Linked DNA regions of Homo sapiens: region 2 is linked to region 1. Evidence: promoter capture Hi-C in 16 types of primary human blood cells and fetal thymus (Javierre and others, 2016). All regions are on one chromosome and are shown on one strand. The core of a region is centred on a gene start or on the middle of the fragment in contact, and the rest is flanking DNA. Distances in the headings are between cores, read along the strand shown.

The links. The method cuts DNA at HindIII sites, captures the fragments that hold promoters and counts their contacts. A CHiCAGO score of 5 or more calls a contact.
Region 2: a fragment that was not itself captured here is called in contact with the fragment with the promoter of PSKH1 in region 1 in 1 of 17 cell types (erythroblasts); the score reaches 5.4 in erythroblasts.

Annotation. Positions count from the first base shown.
Region 1 is chr16:67,891,875-67,897,044 of GRCh38, forward strand. It overlaps PSKH1 (protein serine kinase H1), which reads left to right and starts at 1,380. Exons shown (of 3, transcript NM_006742.3): 1 at 1,380-1,497. RefSeq lists silencers at 1,117-1,176, 1,507-1,626. The HindIII fragment of the contact is 6,871 bases long and covers 1-1,978 here.
Region 2 is chr16:67,569,520-67,575,232 of GRCh38, forward strand. It overlaps CTCF (CCCTC-binding factor), which reads left to right. Exons shown (of 12, transcript NM_006565.4): 2 at 1,629-1,745. Among named protein-coding and RNA genes, the nearest start is that of CTCF, 9.8 kb to the left of the region's middle. The HindIII fragment of the contact is 533 bases long and covers 2,039-2,571 here.

The sequences.
Region 1 (5,170 bases), core at 130-2,629:
TAAAAATAAAAATAAAAATAAAAATAAAAATAAAAATAAAGAAAATTAACCGGGCATGGTGGCAGGCGCCTGTAATCCCAGCTACTCGGGGAGGCTGAGGCAGGAGAATTGCTTGAACTTGGGAGGCAGAGGTTGCAGTGAGCCGAGATTGTGCCATTGCACTCCAGCCTGACAACAAGAGCGAAACTCCATCTCAGGAAAAAAGAAAAGAAAGAAACCTTACTACATAAAATAGACAACAATTTTTTTTTTTTTTTTGAGACGGAGTCTCACTCCATCGCCAAGGCTGGAGTGCAGTGGTGCAATCTCAGCTCATTGCAACCTCTGTCTCCCAGGTTGTAGCTATTCTCCTGTCTCAGCCTCCCGAGTAGCTGGGACTACAGGAGCCTGCCACCAAGCCTGGCTAATTTTTGTATTTTTAGTAGAGACAGGGTTTCACCTTGTTGGTCAGACTGGTCTCAAACTCCTGACTTCAGGTGATCCACCTGCCTTGGCCTCCCAAAGTGCTGGGATTACAAGTGTGAGCAGTGGCGCCCAGCCGACGACAATGTTTTATTGGTGTTAATTTATTTTTAGGTTTAAAGTATAACATTAGCTTATACAGTCAATCAAAGACAGTTCCATGTGCAAAGTACATACTCAATAAAGATTTGAATACAGAGCTACTGAAATGGGGAAGATGGATGGAGGTTACAATGCACTTACCATCTGCAGCACCTATTTTAACCCCTCCAAGTTGGGTTGACTGTAAAGTGAACCAGTTCTGATCCTATAGAGAAGTCATTGTGAATGGTAACAATTTTTTAAAAATCCGCTTGCTTTTCAGACTCGGCATATAAATTAAATTAACAACAACAAATAACCATGAGTCCAGAAGTTGGCCCAAGATTGACTTCACCTATCTACAAATTAACCCTTTGCATCTCTTCTTTGATGGAGGCCAAATTCAACACATGGAGTGTTGAAATTATTCTAAGTGCAGTTTTAAAAAATAGATTTTGTTAATGAAAATTAAGTCTATCCTTTGCGGAGTTCCAGAGGCACTTCCAGAAACCTCTGTTGGAAAGCATTGTTTACCCAAGCTCGCATTACAGAGTCCCCTTTCCCCCAACCAGAAACTTGAAACTTTCTCCCTATTTCCCGCGATCCTTCCTTTTTCTATCACCGACCCGTCTCGCAGGCAGCGGTCAAGTTACTTTGAGCGACAAATAGACCCACCCCTTCAGGAGAGTGCCCGTCCCCGCCCCGAAGAGGTTGATTGGCAGGCCACGCTCGGAGATCCGCCAGCCGCGTAGCCCAGTTTCGGGAGAGTCCGCCCCCGACCCGCCCCCGACCCGCCCCGTAGGCTTGTTTTGGCGTCAGCTGCGCGCTGTGATGACGCCACGACGCTAACGCCCGAGAATGGCGGCGGCGGCGGCGGCGGCGGCGGCCGCTGCCATTGCCCGGAGATGGCCGGCAGAGCCGCCGAGACGCCGAAGAGCCCGCCGCCCGCGCGAGGTGAGGCGGCCCGGCCCAGGACGACGGCCCGACGGGCGGGAGGGGCAGCCGAACTGTGGTCGTGGTCGCTTTCTGGCGCTCCGGGGCCTGCCCCTGGTCAGCCTGCAGCGTCGGCCCGTGCCCCGTGCGCCAGGGCCTACAGGGTTGGAGAGCAGGCCGGGCGATGGCTGCTCGGGTTCCCGGCGTCCGAGTCTGGACTGGCCTCGGAACGTGCTGTCGTGCTGGATAGCCCGTCTCCAGGCCCGCTTGGGCCTGGTGGACGTGGTCGGTTGCCCTGCCTGCTTGCTGTTCAGCCGCCCCGCGTCCAGAGCGGGTCAGGTTGATCCAACCTGGTTGTCCTTGTCCTTACTGCCTTCTCGCGCCCGGCGCCTACTCCACACCCCTCCTTTGCGTCTGCCAGGGGCCGGCGGGGCAGCTGATCGCTTCCTTGTGCAGGCTGGGAAATAGCAGGTCTGAGTCCAGCTGGGTTGCTTGCTTGGCAAGCTTGTCATTCCTCTACCTGCAAGGGGAAGCCTAGTCCCCCACACTTAGTCCCCCTCCATAAAGCGGCTGAAGTGATAATTCCCACCTGAAAATCTGAGTAAGTCCTTCACTGCCTGAAACTAGTTCCTTAGTGCCTTCAGGACAAAGGCCGCACTTCTTAGCAAGGCATTCAGGGCTCTTCGTAATCTGGTGAAGGTTTAACCAGCCAATCAACACCGGAGCACTTCTGTGCTCCCTTTACGTAGTTTATTGTTGTTAAAACGTGTGGCGCTCCTGTTAGCTCTGGTTTCATACCTTTGTGTTTTAGTATTACTAATTTTGAGACAAGGCCTCTATTGCCCAAGCTGGAGTGCAATGGCTCATTCATAGCTCACTGCAGCCTTGAACTCCTGGACTCAAATGATCCTCCCGCCTCAACCTCCCGAGTAGCTGAGACAAGAGGCACTCCCCTCCACGCCTGGCTAAGTTTAAAATTTTTTGTAGAGCCAGGGAGTCTGGCTTTGTTGCCAGAGCTGGCTTCAAGAGACCCTCCTGCCTAGGCTCCTAACATATTGAGATTATTAATACAAGCGTGAGCCACTGTGCTTGGTCCCCTTGTGCTTTAGATAACGCAGTTTTCTCAGTTTGCTATACACTGCCTTCCACCCCACCGACCACCTACCAGTGTTGGAAACTTACATCTGTCCTATAAAATCCACCTGAGATGTCACTTCCTAGGAAAAAAATCTACCTTGCTTGGCATGTAACCATTAACTCCTCTATATCCATGCTGCTACTATTGAGTACATCCTGTTGTGTCACATGGTGGTCTTCTGTCTGCATATGTCTGGCTCTGTGCCTGGCATAAAATAGGGGCTAGCCTCCAGTAGCATTTGCTGAATGCTGACTTATGAATGGATAGATTCAACTGTATTTTTGAGCACCTATCAGGGCTAGGATCTAAGATGAGCACAGCAAATGCCAGCGTATGTGTGTGGTAGGTAGTACAGCCTCTTAATCCTGGATAGTCCAAAATCTCCTGGGATAATTTTGTGATACAAAATCAAGAGCCTTACTGTCTGAGTTAGTTTTTTTTTTTTTTTTTTTTTGAGACGGAGTTTTGCTCTTTTTGCCCAGGCTGGAGCAATGGCGCGATCTTGGCTCACTGCAACCTCTACCCCCCAGGTTCAAGTGATTCTCCTGCCTCAGCCCCCAGAGTAGCTGGGGTTACAGGCAAGCACCACTATGCCCAGCTAATTTTGTATTTTTAGTAGAGATGGTGTTTCACCGTGTTGGCCAGGCTGGTCTCGAACTCCTGACCTCAGGTGATCCACCTGCCTCGGCCTCCCAAAGTGCTAGGGTTGCAGGCATAAGCCACTATGCCTGGCTGAGATTTTTTTTTTTTTGTTTAAACAGAGACGAGGTCTCGCCATGTTGCCGAGGCTGGTGTCGAACTCCTGGGCTCAAGCAGTCCTCCCACCTTGGCCTCCCGAAGTTTTAGGGTTACAGGCAAGAGCCACCACACCTGACCCACTCTTTGAGATTTTGATGAAGAAGATCTGGGGTAGGAATCTGTATTTTTTTTTTTTTTCTGAGATGGAGTCTTGCTCTGACACCCAGGCTGGAGTGCAGTGGTGCGATCTCGGCTCACTGCAACCTCCGCCTCCCAGGTTCAAGCGATTCTCCTGCCTCAGCCTCCCGAGTAGCTGGGATTACAATCACGCATCACCACGCCCAGCTAATTTTTGTATTCTTAGTAGAGACGGGATTTCATCCTGTTGGCCAGGCTGGTCTTGAACTCTTGACCTCGTGATCCACCCGTCTCAGCCTCCCAAAGTGCTGGGATTACAGGCGTGAGCCACCATGTCTGGCCAGGTATCTGTATTTTGAGAAAACTTCCCAGGTAACTTTACTGTGCTTCCTCATTGAAGATCTTTGTCATTGCCTAAGAAAACTGTTGTCTCCTTTGTCCAGTGAGAAGGCCTTGCCTTGTGGACTCCTGTTGTGGTCTCATGCCTAGAAGCATGGGCTTTGGTGTCAGAAAGACCTGGATTCAGTTTCTGGCTTTTCTGAAATCTTGAGGTTCTCTAAGTCCTAATTTCCTTATTCCAAAATAGGAATCATCGTGCCTACTACATGTGCTTGTAGAGAGGAGTGAGATGGTACATATAAGATCCTTAGCAAAGTTGGCACTCAGTTAATGGAAGCCACTTTTATTACTAATGGCTCCTCTTCCCAGAGTTTCCCTTGTCAAAAGAAGGTCTTGTCTTCTTTTTTCTTTTCTTTTTTTTTTTGAGATGATGTCTCGCTCTGTCGCCAGGCTGGAGTGCAATGGCGTGAGCTCGGCTCACTACAACCTCCGCCTCCCAGGTTCAAGCAATTCTCCTGTCTCAGCCTCCTCAGTAGCTGGGACTACAGATGCCTGCCACCACACCTGGCTAATTTTTGTATTTTTAGTAGAGACGAGGTTTCACCGTATTGCTCAGGCTGGTCTCAAACTCCTGACCTCAGGTGATCCACTCACCTCGGACTCCCAAAGTGCTGGGATTACAAGCATGAGCCACCACAACCGGCTAGAAGGTCTTGTCTTAATAAGCGTGTTTGTTCTTCAGGGTTAGTTGTGTGTAGGAAGCTGCTTTGTATTGTGTGATTTCCTCAAGGTCATTTCTGGTCATCGGGGAAAACTGACAATAGTGTGCTTCTTTTTTTTTTTTTTTTTTTTTTTTGAGACGGAGTTTTGCTCTTGTTGCCCAGGCTGGAGTGCAATGGCTCAATCTTGGCTCACCGCAACCTCTGCCTCCCGGGTTCAAGCGATTCTCCTGCCTCAGCCTCCCGCAATATGGTGCCTCTAAATCAGGGTCGATTCAGTTGGCCATACCCCTAGAAGAGATTTGGAATGCTGATTCACTAGAGGGTGGGTTTGCTGAATAAGCATATTGTCTAGGTCTAATTGTAGTTTTGTGCTTGTTAAGTTGCATAAATGAGCTAGAAAAAGTGCAGCCTTCAGGAAACCTGTTTGCATCTGACACTGAGCTCCAGTTGCACTTCACCTCAGGCATCTGGTTGGCATCTAGAACAGAATGCCCCTACAGAAGTAGGTGCTGGAGTTCTCTATCATAATCACAAGTTCATAGTTAAATGAGTGAGACTTTGGTTTGGCCTTCTGTTTTACTTTGGAAGTGTGAGTGTGTAATATGGGCAACTTAGGTCC
Region 2 (5,713 bases), core at 1,055-3,554, 320 kb before region 1:
GAGGTAGGTTCCACTCTACCTTTGCTTGAAGCTTGACAGTTCATTTTGTAATTTAGGGTGAAAAGATGCCATCTAACAAAGTATTCCGTTATTCGACTAAAAAAACTGTTTCATTGCTATGCTTCTAGGATTTTCAAAGGTCAGTAAAAGCTCCTTTTGCCAGTTATCTTTTTTTTTTTTTAATGAGACGGAGTCTAGCTCTGTCGCCCAGGCTGGAGTGCAGTGGCGCGATCTCGGCTCATTCCAACCTCCGGCTCCTGGGTTCAGGCGATTCTCCTGCCTCAGCCTCCTGAATAGCTGGGATTACAGGCGTGTGCCACCACGCCTGGCTAATTTTTGTATTTTTAGTAGAGATGGGGTTTCGCCATGTTGGTCAGGCTGTTCTCAAACTCCTGACCTCAGGTGATCCACCTGCCTTGGCTTCCCCAGTTATCTTACTAAACTGGAAAGCATAGCCTTTACTTGTGGCATGAACAAACTTAATCAGTAAGACCACTACTTGCTAAAGATACGGAAATAAACTGTTAGAGAGCCATTACTGCAGCCATAAGAATTAATTTTTTTTTTTTTTTTTTGAGACGGAGTCTCGCTGTGTTGCCCAGGCTGGAATGCAGTGGCAGGATCTCGGCTCACTGCAAGCTCCGCCTCCCGGGTTCATGCCATTCTCCTGCCTCAGTCTCCTGAGTAGCTGGGACTACAGGCACCCGCCACCACACCCGGCTAATTTTTTTCTTTGTATTTTTAGTAGAGACGGGGTCTCACGTGTTAGCCAGGATGGTCTTGATCTGCTGACCTCGTGATCTGTCTGCCTCGGCCTCCCAAAGTGCTGGGATTACAGGCGTAAGCCACTGCGCCCAGCCAATAATTAATTTTTTGGTAGTTTGAATATGTGTGCCATTATTTGGTTGCAATATTGCAGTGGAGTGTTTTGTTTTGTTTTTTTTTTTGAGACGGAGTCTCGCTCTGTCGCCCAGGCTGGAGTGCCGTGGTGCGATCTCGGCTCACTGCATGCTCTGCCTCCCAGGTTTGCACCATTCTCAGCCTCCCAAGTAGCTGGTACTACAGGCGCCTGCCACCACACCCGGCTAATTTTTTGTATTTTTAGTACAGACGGGGTTTCACCATGTTAGCCAGGCTGGTCTCGATCTCCTGACCTCGTGATCTGCCCGCCTTGGCCTCCCAAAGTGCTGGGATTACAGGCATGAGCCACCGCGCCTGGCCTTTTTTTTTTTTTTTTTTTTTGAGACAAGATCTCTCACTCTGTCAAGCAGGCTGGAATGCAGTGGCACAATCTCAGCTCAGTACAGCCTCAAACTCCTGGGTGAGTCTCCCACCCTGGCTTCCGAAAGCGTTAAGATTACTGGTGTGAGCCTGGAGTACTATTTTGCTACTTAGAAACCTTTAGTCCTTTATATATTTAGCAAATGTGTGAAAAAATAAATGAATGTTTTGTTATTGGCTTGATGGTGGACATTTATGGAATGGCTCGGTTAGTGACATGACATGAACAGGTGTTTTGTTTCTTTCCCAATTTTTTCTGTCTTCAGTTTTCCCTCATTTTTTTTCATACTATATGCGTATTTGTATGAATTTAGTGTTTCATAAAATGATTTGTGCTTTTCTTTTAGAATGATTACGGACCTGAAGCCAAAGAACAAGATGCGCTAGTGGACAGATTGCTGACCAGGGGCTTGAGAGCTGGGTTCTATTTTCCCTCCTCAAACTGACTTTGCAGCCACGGAGAGGTAAGTGCTATTTCCATTTTTTCTATCTTAAAAATGGTAGTAATATAACCCTCCTGGAGTTGGAGGATTTGTTGGCTAATTCTTGAATATAGGGGATGCAGGATATCAGGTGATTGAGAGCATACAGGCTTCATAATCAGAGTCCTGGGTTTGAAACTCTTTACGATGATATACTAGCTGGGTAATATGGGGCAAGTTACTTTAACCTGTCTACTCCTGTAGTCCTCACTTGTGAGAGAATAACACCACCAATCTCAGAGACTATTCTCCGTTAATGAGAATGTGTTTTGTAAAGCTTTAAGTACTATTCTGAACATGTACATAGAAAGATCCCAGGAAATTGTGGCTGCTTTTCTGTAGAAACCCTTGGAATGTGTATTTTGACTATTGGCAAATGAACTGAAAAGAAAGTCCATGACCTGTGGCTACTTGTAATTTTGATAAGAAACAGATGGAATCCTGTTCTTGGGGAACCTGGTATCCTGGATAAAAATTGTCTTAATTTGAGTTAGCCTAGCTCATTGCCCATTTTGCGTCAGAGTGTGACAGTGATTATCATTTTAATTTAGCCTGTAATTTTTGCTATAAAATATAATGGACATTATATGGAACTTGGAACAGACCTTCTATAAATATTGGAATCTACTATGCTTTGGGATCTCATAAACAACAAAGTGGGATTCTGGTTGTAAAAATTATCTCTTCTCACGGTACCGGAAAGCACATTTTTTTCAGACCCTAGAAAAATGTGAAAATAATTTAATCGTACATGTGTAATGGCAAAAAGGAATGTAGAAGTGGAAATTACAAATGCCAGGATTAGATAAGCTTATGTGAATGAATCATCTAAATGACTACTAAGATTTTTCTTACAAGCTCTGCCTGGAGCAAATAAAGAGAAGGGAATAGGAATGAAAGTTCTGTTATTCTTCAAACCTTTATTTTCCAAATGGGCAACTTGTTATCCTGCTAGATGGGAAGGAGAAGGTCTGTGGTAGTATTCTGTCACTCCAAAAATAACTTACGCCCTGCAGGTTCTTTTAGGAGTGTTGACACAGAGTGCATACCAAAAGTTGCTGATTTAAAAACTATTGAGAAATCGAACCTTTAAGAGTTTAGGGAATGGGTTTATAGGAACACGTTAATCACTTTCAAGTGTTATGACTAGCTTAATTGCTTAGATCCCTGTTTCTCAAACTGGGATATGAATACCCTTAGGGAATCAGGTGGTATGATTTCGGGGTACTTGGAGTCACAAGAAAGATAAACATGACCCATCTTCCTAGAACTTCAGTTATAGTCATAGAGGAGGTGGTGAGTTAAGTAATTTAACTGGTCAGTGATTAAATATTAAATATTGGCCAGGCACGGTAGCTCACACCCAGTACATTGGAAGGCCAAGGCCTCCAAAATCCCAGTAATCCTAGTACTTTGGGAGGCCAAGGCAGGTAGATCACTTGAGGTCAGGAGTTCCAGACCAGCCTGGCCAACATGGTAAAACCCCATCTCTACTAAAAATATAAAAACTAGCCGAGTGTGGTGGTGGGTGCCTGTAATCCCAGCTACTTGGGAGGCTGAGGCAGGAAAATCGCTTAAACCTGGGAAGCAGAGGTTGCAGTGAGCCAGGATTGTGTCACTGCACTCCACCCTGGGCGACAGAGTGACTCTGTCTGCCCCCCCCCGCCCCCCCCCCCAAAACAACAAAAGACTGGGCGCGGTGGCTCACGCCTGTAATCCCAGAACTTTGGGAGGCTGAGGTGGGCGGATCACAAGGTCAGGAGTTCGGGACCAGCCTGGCCAACATGGTGAAACCCCGTCTCTACTAAAAATACAAAAAATTAGCTGGGTGTAGTGGCGGGAACCTGTAATGCCAGTTTCTCGGGAGGCTGAGGCAGAAGAATTGTTTGAACCTGGGAGGCGGAGGTTGCAATGAGTTGAAATCACTGCACTCCAGCCCAGGCAACAGAGTGAGACTCTGTCTCAAAAAAACAACAAAAAAAACCCCAAGAAGACAATTAGCTGGGTGTGGTGGTGCGTGCCTGTAATCCCAACTACTCGGGAGGCTGAGGCAGGAGAATCACCTGAACCAGGAGGCAGGCAGAGGTTGCAGTGAGCCAAGATCACACCACTGCACTCCAGACTGGGTGACAGAGCAAGACCGTCTCAAAAAATAAATAAATAAATAAATATTAAATATTGTTATATTAAAACAAATAGACATTTTTGGAGCAGAATGAAAACTGTATGATTAAGATAACATAGGTCTTCAACAAAATGAGCATGAGTGCCTGAGGGTGGGAAGTTCTCTCTGTATAGGTTCTATAGTGGATATGTTTGAGAAGCAATACATTTGAGCTATAGAACAGCTCTGCTATCCTGCTCCTTACTTTGTCCTTGTAGTATTTGTGTAGGGAAAAACTCTCAAGCCCAGGTTTTTCCTTTGCTTTCACATAACAACCACCATCAACACAAAAGAAGACTTACGTGGCTGGGCCCAGTGGCTCATGCCTGTAATCCTAGCACTTTGGGAGGCCAAGGTGGGCAGATTGCAAGTCCAAGAGATTGAGACCATCCTGACCAACATGGTGAAATCCCATCTCTACTAAAAATACAAAATTTAGCCGGGCGTTGTGGTGCGTGCCTGTAGTTCCAGTTACTGGGGAGGCTGAGGCAGGAGAATCGCTTGAACCCGGGAGGCGGAAGTTGCAGTGAGCCGAGATCATGCCACTGTACTCTGGCTTGGCGACAAGGCGAGACTCCATCTCAAAAAAAAAAAGACTTACGTGACCAAAGATGGGGTGGAGGGATTTTCCTCACACACCAAACAGTGTATGCCAACTAGGTGTCATCCAACACCATCTACCCAAGATGGTGTCAGATCCCACACGTTTAGGGTTCAGTCCCATAAGACCACCTGTCCTTCCTACCAGTCACAAGCCCATTCCTTCAGAGCTTCTGACCAACTGGCTTCAAGTTGAGTTTCCCACGACCTCTTTCTTGGGTTCCATTAGTTTGCTAAAGCAGTTCACAGACCTCAAGGAAACACTTCTTTAGATTTGCCAGTTTGTTAAGAGGACTACTTTATTTATTTATTTTTGAGACAATCTCACTGTGTCGCCCAGGCTGGAGTGCAGTGGCGTGATCTCGGCTCACTGCAACTTCCCCCTCCCAGGTTCAAGCAGTTCTCCTGCCTCAGTCTCCCGAGTAGCTGGGATTACAGGCGTTCACCCCCACGCCTGGCTAATTTTGGTATTTTTAGTAGAGATGGGGTTTTGCCATGTTGGCCAGGCTGGTCTCAAACTCCTGACCTCAGGTGATCCACCCAGTTCGGCCTCCCAAAGTGCTGGGATTACAGGCATGAACCACCACGCCCAGCCAAAAGCATCTTTTTTTTTTTTTTTTTTTTTTTTTTGAGATGGAGTCTTGCTCTGTTGCCCAGGCTGAAGTGCAGTGGTGCAATCTTGGCTCACTGCAAGCTCCGCATCCCAGGTTCACACCATTCTCCTGCCTCGGCCTCCCAAGTAGCTGAGACTACATGCGCCCACCACCACACCCAGCTAATTTTTGTATTTTTAGCAGAGACAGAGTTTCACCTTGTCAGCCAGGATGGTCTTGATCTCCTGACCTCTTGATCTGCCTGCCTCGGCCTCCCAAAGTGCTGGGATTACAGGCGTGAGCCACTGCGCCCAGCCAAAAGCATCTATTCTTAACTGTGTGTTTTACAATTACTAAGTATTGTTATTAACATATTGCTCTTAACATAAGTGGCATTTAAGAATTACATTTTTTCCATATGTCCTTGTGGATAGAGGAAAAAAAAAGAATTACATTTTCTTTAGTCACGCGTTGTGTTGCATGCCTGTAGTCCTAGCTATTCAGGAGGCTGAGGCCGGAGGATCGTCTGAGCTGAGAAGGTTGAGGTTGCAATGAGCCGTGGTCCCACCACTGCATTTCATTCAGCCTGGGTG